2 separate regions of the Homo sapiens genome follow, and region 2 is linked to region 1. Evidence: promoter capture Hi-C in 16 types of primary human blood cells and fetal thymus (Javierre and others, 2016). All regions are on one chromosome and are shown on one strand. Each heading gives the region's core, a stretch centred on a gene start or on the middle of the fragment in contact. The rest is flanking DNA. Distances are from core to core; before and after follow the strand shown.

What was found. The method cuts DNA at HindIII sites, captures the fragments that hold promoters and counts their contacts. A CHiCAGO score of 5 or more calls a contact.
Region 2: a fragment that was not itself captured here is called in contact with the fragment with the promoter of SLC35E3 in region 1 in 1 of 17 cell types (naive CD8 T cells); the score reaches 6.4 in naive CD8 T cells.

What each region holds. Positions count from the first base shown.
Region 1 is chr12:68,743,963-68,749,201 of GRCh38, reverse strand. SLC35E3 (solute carrier family 35 member E3) reads right to left here and starts at 3,026. Exons shown (of 5, transcript NM_018656.5): 1 at 2,423-3,026; 2 at 1,162-1,272. The coding sequence starts at 2,824. NUP107 (nucleoporin 107) reads right to left here. Exons shown (of 28, transcript NM_020401.4): 28 at 3,393-5,239. RefSeq lists enhancers at 2,004-2,193, 2,554-2,663, 2,714-2,813, 2,663-3,353. The HindIII fragment of the contact is 13,773 bases long and covers 1-5,239 here.
Region 2 is chr12:67,297,012-67,302,250 of GRCh38, reverse strand. It overlaps CAND1 (cullin associated and neddylation dissociated 1), which reads right to left. Exons shown (of 15, transcript NM_018448.5): 5 at 4,588-4,844; 6 at 4,398-4,503; 7 at 3,156-3,301. Among named protein-coding and RNA genes, the nearest start is that of CAND1, 30 kb to the right of the region's middle. The HindIII fragment of the contact is 2,774 bases long and covers 1,197-3,970 here.

The DNA.
Region 1 (5,239 bases), core at 1,777-4,276:
GAATCCTTTGATTCTAATCTATAGCAATTTTGAGACTTGTGTGAACAAAAATGGTCATAGTGACAGAGATGGTGAGTACTCTGAATCTATTACGTATAAGGAGTACAATTACTTGCTCTGTTTAATAAATTGCCTATACTAGGCAAAAACAAGTGCATTTAACAAGAAAGATGAATAGGAATGTTCACTAGCCTCTTCTTTTATTTAAACTGCTTCTCTGCCACTAGAAAATGTATTTCACTGCAGAATATTTTCAAATACTGTCTCTGACATGATCACTACTAGAATGTTTAAGATGCCAGGGCTCTATTACTGAACTCCTAAAATTTCAAACAAGAATGCCTTAGTTTAATAACCAGTGGATGTTTGTGAAAAAAATAAAATTGGTTACACATTTTGGCTTTGATTCCCCATGCAGGCACACCCAGAATTTCCAGACCAAGGTTTTCAGTATAGAGAGAATACCGTTTCACTGTCCCCTACAGCAAGTTATTTTTTCTCCACTAAATAAGAATCAAAAACCATACTTGTTAGGATTTTATGGTAATGAAGTAAGTGAATCCATGAACATATTTTTAATGAATATCTGCTATAGGCAAGGCACTGCGCTTGCACAAATGGAAAAATATTCATTAATATAAATTACTCTATATTTATTAATATAGAGTATAATATTGTAATAATCTATATTAGACACATTATTAAAAGCCAATAAACAAGTTGTAACAGCAGTATAATTTTTGAGGCAAAAACATCTAAAAATCTGAAATTTTTCATTACTGTTCAGATTTCTGGAAGTATACTCACTCCTTCACAACAATGTTAAAAGTAAAGAGTAAACAGAAAACATAACAAACTTAGGAAGTAAAAAGTCTTACTAGGTATTTTGTAAAGATTTCCCAGAAAATAACTTCACCCCAAGCTGAGACTGTTAAGCATGGATATTATACACTTACAAACAGGTAGGTATTTGGTGAGCATCACACACCCAAGTTTCTCTGTCTCCTTTCTTCTCTTCACCTTGAGTCAGACAACTTATGCAATTATGCTTTCTTCCCAACAGTCTATTGTCTCTATACTGTATTTTCTAAACCTTGGAATACAGCTTCAAAATTTATGAAATCTGCTAAAAAGGCACATAAAGAAAAAAAAATTACCAACCACTTGATAAAGGGATGTAACTAAAACACCAAGAGCAGCAAACACCATTCCAAGGAAATTAAACTTCACATCGTAATAAGAATTTAGGATTACACCTAAAGTTATAGGAATCTGTAACGAAAAAGAGGTAAATGTTGTTCAGATTAAATTCAAGAGACAAAAATTTAGTATTCCTTTCACAATGTCTTACAAGGCTAATGATAAACACATAACTGGGAAACAATGAACCTGTATAAATGTTTTCTGTTTTGACTTGGGAAAACTAGTTGTTAATCCTATTTCCTAAACGTGAAATATGACAAATCTATATTGATATTCACATTTAATTCCATTCTAAATTTGTGGTAAATATATTGCACTTTGCAAGAAAATACCACATGAATACAAAGGTGAGTAAATGGATCCCCAAACTAGTGTCTAAACAGCATAAGCATAAATATAAAACAATAAAAGCATAAAGACCTTAAATATAAGGCCAGGCACGGTGGCTCACCACTGTAACCCCAGCGCTTTCGGAGGCCAAGGCGGGCAGATCACCTGAGGTCAGAGTTCGAGACCAGCCTGATTAACATGGAGAAACCCCGTCTTTACTAAAAATACAAAATTAGCCGGGCGTGGTGGCGCATGCCTGTAATCCCAGCTACTCGGGAGGCTGAGGCAGGAGAATCGCTTAAACCCGGGAGGCGGAGGTTGCGGTGAGCCGAGATCGTGCCATTGCACTCCAGCCTGGGCAACAAGAGTGAAATTCCGTCTCAAAAAGAAAAAAAAAAAAAAGAAAAAGACCTTAAATAAGTTACTAAGTGCTAAAATTGAGTCCACCTCCTTTTATTTAAAGATGCAGACAGCTCTAAAGTATGGTGCTGCAGACGTTTTGAGACCTACTTTATGCTACATCTTTTCACGTTTTATCATACACGATTTGATTCCCCTGGGGGAGAAAGGCTGTTTTTGTTTGAGCTTTTGCAGATATTCTGATAACACTGGACTGTACCACCCAATACAGCTTTTTTTCTTATCGATCACAGCATTTAACGATTTCCATCAAATGGCAGCTACTAAAATTCACACATGCCCACTCTTCTGGGCTGACAAGATGGCCTTTTCCCCCTCCCTAAAATAAGCCTAAAAGTTCACATGCCCACAGATGACTCATTTGTGGATTTCAAGATGAAGGGAAAGACCAGTGTGCGTTCGAATTTCCCGGGGCCAGTGCAGGAGGTGGGTCGGGAGAGCGGCGCCTTGGGAAGCTGAAGCTACTCACCAGCGTGAGCTGGATTCTGGTGGAGAAGGTTTTCTGGTAGCAGAAGGTCTGGATGGCTATGATCACCGGCGTGGTCATGGCCTTGGCCAGCTGATAGGTGCCTATGGTGTTGTTCTGCAGAGAAAGGTTAGTGAAGACCACAAAGCCACAGAAGCTGAGGGCCAGGAGGAGGAGCCTGGAGGGCGGCAGACTTTTGGGGGCAAAGATGTCCAGCTTCTGGCAGATATACAAGCCCAGCCAGGTGACCACGAAGTGCACCAGGGTCAGGCTCATGTTGGGGAAGCCGTGGTACACATAAATCCATTTGTTGAGGAACACAATGCAGATGGACACCAGCAGGTTGAACAGGAGCCCGGCGGCGATTCGCCAGTGGCCCCGCACTCGGTCCACCAGCAATGCCATGATCCCCGCGAAGCTGGGGCCGTCTAGCCTCGGAAGGGGCGCCGGGCCTGTCTCCGGCTGCCCTTCTACTCCACCGCCGCGTCCTCGCAGACGCCGACCTCACCGTCTGACCCAGGAGTGGCATGCACAGATCAACCCCGGGCGAGTAGCACTCTTAACAGAGGACACACACCCCGCCGCCGCCCTGTAAGCCAGCTAGGACGCCGCAGCACGTCCCACGCCCCGCTCATCTCCGCCCGCAGCCACGTGACTCGGGGCTCCAGTGCTTCCGCCCCCGAGCCGCTGGCTGAACGGCCGCTACCCTGCGCAGGCGCGCTGAGCCTTGGGCGCGCGACGCTTGCGTCTTTGGGTCCTATCCTCTGGGTCCCCGACCCCCTTGGTCACCTAACGCCTACCTGACTGGACCAATCTAGGACCCCTTTCTTGATGTTTGTTTCCTGTGTGTCATTGACCCGATTTGCTAGACAACTTCTCTCTGGCTGTGCAGACACTGTTAGCCAATTTTACGTATTAAATGCTGAGCAAATTTAGTAGCCCTCGCCAGAGGGGGGAAAGAACTTATTGAAAGCATGTTTTTATTTTTTATTTTTGGAAAAAGACATTCAAAATTTACTTTCCAACAGACAGCATCATCGGGTATAACTACAAGGGTTTCTCCTTAGATCATACATTCACAAAGCATTATTAGCTCAACAGTGAGAAAATGTGTTCTCTAAAGATGTCCCCTTGACAATGTAAACGAGTGCTACTGTGTTCACTTACAACTCGAGAAAAAAACGTACAACCTGGCAAAACCGTATATATATACAGCTGTCTCTAGGGGTGCATACAAATATATATATATGTTTTGGATCAGGTCAGGTGCAATGACTAAGAGATAGAACTTTGAGTAACAGTCTTGATCGACAGTAAGGTCCTTCACACAGAAGTCAGGTTCTTCCTTTCTCCTTCCTCCTTAAGTCGATAAAGAAAGATTATATATTGTAGATATTACAGGTACAAAAGGAGATTTTTAAAAAAGGAATCACAAAAACATCTTGAATGTCCAGCTGTTCCTGCCAATACATCAATTCTTAGTTTTAAGACAGAGTCTAGGATTAATTCAGCAGTCATAAAATTAAAAAGAGAGACTGTGGTACAAAAAATTTAAAATAAATGAGGAAGTAGGGCATGGTGGCGTGGGCCTGTAGTCCCAGCTATTTGAGAGACTGACGTGGGAGGATTGCTTGAGCCCAGGAGTTGGAAGCCGGGATGGGCAACATAGTGAGACCCCCATCTCTAAATTAAATAAATAAATGAGGTAGGGAAATTAAAACTTTCACACCCAGGACATGCCTGTTCCAACTTTGTAGCCTTCATGCAATGCTCAAGGAAAAAGTCTTCATAATTCCTTGGCATAAGTCACACCAAGAAAAGTTTTTAAAACTTAGTATGCGAACCTGTGATAGGCAACACGCCCTTCCCTGAGTTTCCTCTCTAGAATGAAAACCCAGTTCTTCAAGAGTAGGCACTGAGGAACTAAATTAAGTTGCCTGAAATTTCCCACTCAGGTGCCCACCACTTCTGGTGTTCAGGAAGAGAGGCATTTGGGAATTGTGAGGAGCACATTGGCACTCTTGGGGCTCCAACTGAACTGTATTTAAATAAGCAGCAACACACACATTGACTCCCTAAGGACTCAAAGGAGTCCAATTGGCTGGGTGCAGTGGCTTATGCCTGTAATCCCAGCACTTTGAGAGATCGAGGCGAGTGGATCACTTGAGGTCAAGAGTTTGAGACCAGCCTGGCCAACATGGCAAAACCCCGTCTCTACTAAAAATACAAAAATTAGCCAGGCGTGGTGGCAGGCGCCTGTAATCCCAGCTACTAGGGAGGCTGAGGCAGGAGAATCGCTTGAACCCAGGAGGCGGAGGTTTGCAGTGAGATATCATGCCACTGCACTCCGGCCTGGGAGACAGAGCAAGACCATGTCTCAAAAATAAATAAATAAATAAAAATTAAAAACAAGTCCATTTGAGGGCATCCTAATTAAGAGTCTAAGGTTGAAGGAATTTTGTAATTCCACAACCTTAGTGGGTTTCTGTGCTGTGTTTTTTAAAGGACATTCAAAAAACAAGGCACAACAAAAGACAAATACAGAGTGGGGGACATGCAAAACAAGTTCCTAAATAGATGACAGACCTTGTCCATTTACCCACATACGGTTACGATGGAAGCATACAATATTCCTCCTCCTCATTTAGGCTAAGTAGTTTTCCCACTGTTGTTCAACAAATAGGTAACAGTCTTTGGAAATAGTCACCCTGGGTTGTACAAAGTTTCTATATATACAGTTTGTTGCAAGTAACAAAACTACTTTTAAGACTCACTTATTTCCCCTCCCCACCCCAAATCTAGTCTGTATTTGTTTTGGTA
Region 2 (5,239 bases), core at 1,334-3,833, 1.4 Mb after region 1:
TGATATTCTTAACCAAATCAGTTAATCTAACTTTCCGGTAACATATACAGCAACAGGTAGGTTTCAACAGAACTAGAACTTGAACAAAGAGCTTGTTATTTCTGTAAATCTGCACATAAATTAAACTTAAAAAACAAACATAATGGTATTTTTAATTAGTTAAACATTTTCTCATTTACTTTGTAATGAACTGCTGCTTATTTTAACCCTTTAAAATCATCAATTAACACATTCAACTTCTTTAGAATATAAATATTTATAGTCATAAATTTCCCAGCCTTTGAAACAAAATTCAAAGAACTTACTTAACAGCATAGGAAAAATCAAGCAAACAATCAGGGACTTTATAAGACAAACCATGAAATGGATTTGTGGTAATAGAGTAGGTGATAAAAAGAATGGTTACCAATCCCAAAACACTGTAGAACTAATTTGCTGGGAATAAAAAGAAGGTTGACATCAGCTTTGTGACTACAAGGCTTTTCACTCAACTTGTTGATAAGCTGTGAGGAACAAATATGTATATTCTAAACCTTTCACAATTTTGTCTTAATGTACTTTAACAAAACCATTTTTGCTTAATTATACCAAGAAAATGCTGCACACTTAACAGAGGACCATTTTTTCCCCTAATGCTAAACCTTAAACATTCAAAGCAAAAGCACTAAGAATTGTATCTCACTTATCTATACTTGATGGATAACATGTGTGTGAAATCTCCAGAAAATCTTTCTTTCTAACACCATCAGGTTTAATTAGTTGGGTAATATGAAGTCAGAAAGGTGGCAGAAATATTAGCAGTTATCATGATAGTCTAAAATTATCTCACAATAATTTCTTTATTCTTAGATAAGACTATACATAGCCTTGAAATAATAGAGCGGAGTAGTAACTTTTTACTGGCTTTTATTCCAATTAGCTTAGTTTGACAGTCAAATGTAGCCAGCTAGGCCTTAGAAGATTCTACAGTATACAACAAAATAATAAAATTTTCCAACTCAAAAGCTTAAAATTCACCTTAGCACATTACAGGAAAATACAACCAAATACTGCTAAATGCAAGACGTTTGCTTATTTACCAATATCTATTCAAATAAAGTTAAAAGATACTGCCAAAATACACTATCAAGTTAAGAGCACATAAAATTTTTTCCATGTCAATACACTATGGCAATTGCCTCCCAGAAATATAAGCTTTATTAAAAACAAGATTATAAAAAATTAACAAATGTCCTTATTCACTAAAATTACGTTGATTTTATAAATCACAAAAACACCATGGTAGAAAAGTCATTTAATGGGTATAATTCATACTAAGTGATAAAGCAGGTGAAGTACCTAGTTTGTTATACAGCACACAAAAAAACAAAATTCAAAACCTGGAATATACATTGCTACTGCTTTCTTCAAAAGATATTCATATTAAAATATAAGCTAAAGTTTCCCTTCATTAATACAACCCATTTATTGATTGCCTGTGTGTCAAGTACTGTCCTAGGCACTGGAATAAAGCAGTCAATCAAGAGATTAAAACATCTAGCCTTCATGAAACTTATATTCTAATAGGTAGGAGACCATCAATTACAGTATGTCAGAAAGTTACTAAGTGTGATAAACAAAATAAAAACAATAAAATGAAAGATAGTTCTGAGGTGGAAGACTAGCTGAGGGATGTGTGAAAAAGGAATCAGGTATGACTGCAAGGTTTTTGGCCTGATCAACTAAGAAGAATAGAGGTACCATTCTGAGATGGAAAAGGCTAAAGAAGAACAGGTTAGGTGGGAGATGGGGAAGGGGCAGGGAAAAGATATTTTAGATATCCAAGCAGCAATATTAATTAAGCAGTTGCATATGAATCTGGATTCACAAGTGAGATCTGGATTAAAGATAGGATGTGGGTTGCCAGCATATTGATATTAAAGCCAGGAGACTAGATGAGATCAACAAAAAAATCAACAGTATAACAGGTTAAGTTCAAGGACTGAGCCTTGGGATACTCTAAGTACAGTGGTCAGGGTGAAGAAGAAGAAACAGCATCGAAGACTGGAGTAATCACAACGATAGGACTACATCCAGGCTAGAATGGTATCCCAGAAGCTAAATAAAGAAATGTTGCCGAGACTGAGTAATACGATAGGCAGAGTCAAACATTTGCAATCTCATCCATCACTGGAGGAGTGGATTCAAGAGAGAATGGAAAAAAGAAAATGGAACTGCATTCTTTTAAGGAGCTCTGTTGTGGAGGAGAGAAACTAGGCAGCAGCTGCTAGAGGAGTATATGGTGTTAAGAAACTCTTTTGGTACTTGTTTTTTAAAGATGGGTGAAATTACTGACTTGACAGGAAAGCTGTTATGTAAATTCATTCAAAGAATCAAACTAAAAAGTATTCTCAAAAATAACAAAAAATCCACCAACCTGTTTACCTAGTAATTTACCAACTTAAATATTTGTTATTATGATTCTTCCAATACAAACAGAAACAACTGACATGAGCAACCCCTATGTCCTTGAAGTGCTGCTACTACTTTCCAGAGTAAATATCATAAATCATCGTGTGATTACATCAATCTTAGGAGCCTCAGAAATGTTGTAAGCTATTAATGAATGTTAAATGGGGCCTCGAACAGTATTTAGAATTTTTCATGAACTATGAATAAACAAACTAATATTCTTTCAAGCCAAGCTGCCCTAAATATGTATATCTACAGATTCAATTCTTTCTAAAACCTTGGTTTATCTCCTTACAAAAATGCTTTGTAGAAAATTTGAATAGTACTTAAAACCAAAAATCATACATAGTTCCTAGCCAAGAGAAAACAAGTGGTAATAGTACTAGTTGTAAATATACAGATTTTTTTCTGTATACTTAAAGAAATAAAATTGGGCTATGGTGAGCAATTTTTGCTACATACTTTTCACTCACCTTATTAACAGCATTAATGAATGATTTTTAGACATGATTTTTTAATGTGTTGCATAACAGTTCAATACATGGATGCCCTCTAACTTAATTTGCTGTTGTCAAATATTGAGATCATTTCCCTTTTCACTATTATAACTAAATAAAACAAACAGTACAATTTGGACTAAGAATCATCTCCATCTATAAGTGTCTTTCACAAAAACTCAAAAGATTCTATTTAATTTGCAATACCTTGATCATCATCATCACCACCATCAGCATCCATTGCATTTTCATCTTCATCTTCATCATCGTAATTATAATTTGGATCATAGGTAAGATATTTAAGACAAATATTTATAATGGTAGAAACATGAGGATATACTTCCTTAGGACATCTAAAGACAAAAACAAAAGCTGCCTTGAAGAGCTGCATTTTACTCCTTGATTCATTACCTGCCACATTTTGCTTTATTACCAGCAATAACATAGGACAGTAGTTCCCAGACTATCTAGCACCAATGATTCTTGCTCTTTCTCTCCCATGGACTTACTATTTTAAAAGGTTTACCTTTCAAATTGTACTTATTTAATCAATTTTAAGATGAACTCCCCTAATCCCGATTTTAACTATGTTATGGTTAATGTATGGCAGTATAGACAGAAATCGGTATATAATCAACATGTTATTAGAAAACCAAACCCAGATGAATGTGCTCTTCAGTAACTAGGATTATTTGTGGAAATGCCAGTGCATATTCACCTAGGCTTGGTCTTCTACCGATGTAATGAGAGGACAGAACATATAAATGCCCACAGGGCCAGCAAATAAAAGAATACTTTGTGTTTCTCAACTAAAGGAACAAAAATGAATCTAACAATTTCTGATTTTCAGAATATGGTATGATTAAAAGCCACTTCTCAAAACCAGGAGTGTCAAGGGATAAATGCAGAAAACAACCAGTAAGGTCTCAAGACACCATGCTACTGCATTAGTCAAGAGGAAAAATAATGTTACTTATCTTGTATTGCCTTCTAGTACACAAATACACAACTTTTACTAAGCTTTTAAAAAATATATTAGAATCAGTTTCCAAATTGAGAATCACTGACCTAGCAAAATGGATGTGACCTAAGAAATTGTTGAAAAGGCAATTCACTACTTATTTCTGACGAATAATTTATCCTGCTGGGCTTTCAGTACAGACTACATTATTACACTGGCATTTCTTCCCTTCTAAAGTAAACCCAAAATAATTATAAATACCTTTCCAAAATTCTTTAAATAAAGTCCTAACAATGACAAGGAAAATTTTCAAAATAAATGTGATGACCACATTTTATAATAGCAAGATGACATTAGTTTCAAATACTGTATTGTCTGTTATATCTGAAATCCAAAAGGCCGCTTCTCCTCACACACCTAATGTAGACCTTATGATTCTACTCTTAAGGAAAAACTTTTTGTAAAAAATAGAGATCTTAAAAACTTACCTTCTTACAAATGATTCAAAGGCTTGAATACAGTACTCTCTTAATTCATCATCATCTACATTGCAAAATTTTACCACCAAAGGAATTATCTTCTCAAGGTATTCACCTAAGAAAAGCATAATGGTTCTTTAAAAACATGCATTAATTTTTTTAATTAAAGAAAACTGTAAAACTTTTAAAGATTTCTTACCTATTCTATGACCAGCTTGCCTACTAATAGCAGCAATACATTGTATGTAGGTTCTTGTTGTTGACATAGAATCATTTTTGGACAACTCTGACAACAGATGTTCAATAAGATCTACAAAAACTATATTTCCACAGCTCATAACCAGATGGCCAAGAGCGATAATGGTTCTTTTCCTCACTGCAAGTCTAGGGCTGGTCAACTGGGGAAGTAGACAGGTCAGAATTGAAGGATGGAAATTAACAAGAAGTCCTCCTTGCCTTAAAATAAAATAAAAAAAGAAAGAAAACAACAAATGAATTCAAGATGCCTGGCCACTACTAAATGTCTGGCCTCTGACCTCAATGCAAATATTCAGAACACAAATTTAGTTGAGACTAATTCATAGTGAAAGAAAAATTAAATTATCACTTTATCTACCAATGCAACTGAAACCTGAGCTAAGTGAATGCAGCACTGAAATTTACATTGCCAAACTGACTCCGGGAATCTAGACCTAAATCCCCAATTATAGGATATCTAATTGATTGGCTTGGGAAAATATTAAAAAACAAAAACAAAAACCACAAGTCTGGGTGTGAAGGCTCACACCTGTAATCCCGGCACTTTGGGAGGCTGAGGCAGGCAGATCACTTGACCCCAGGAGTTCGAGACC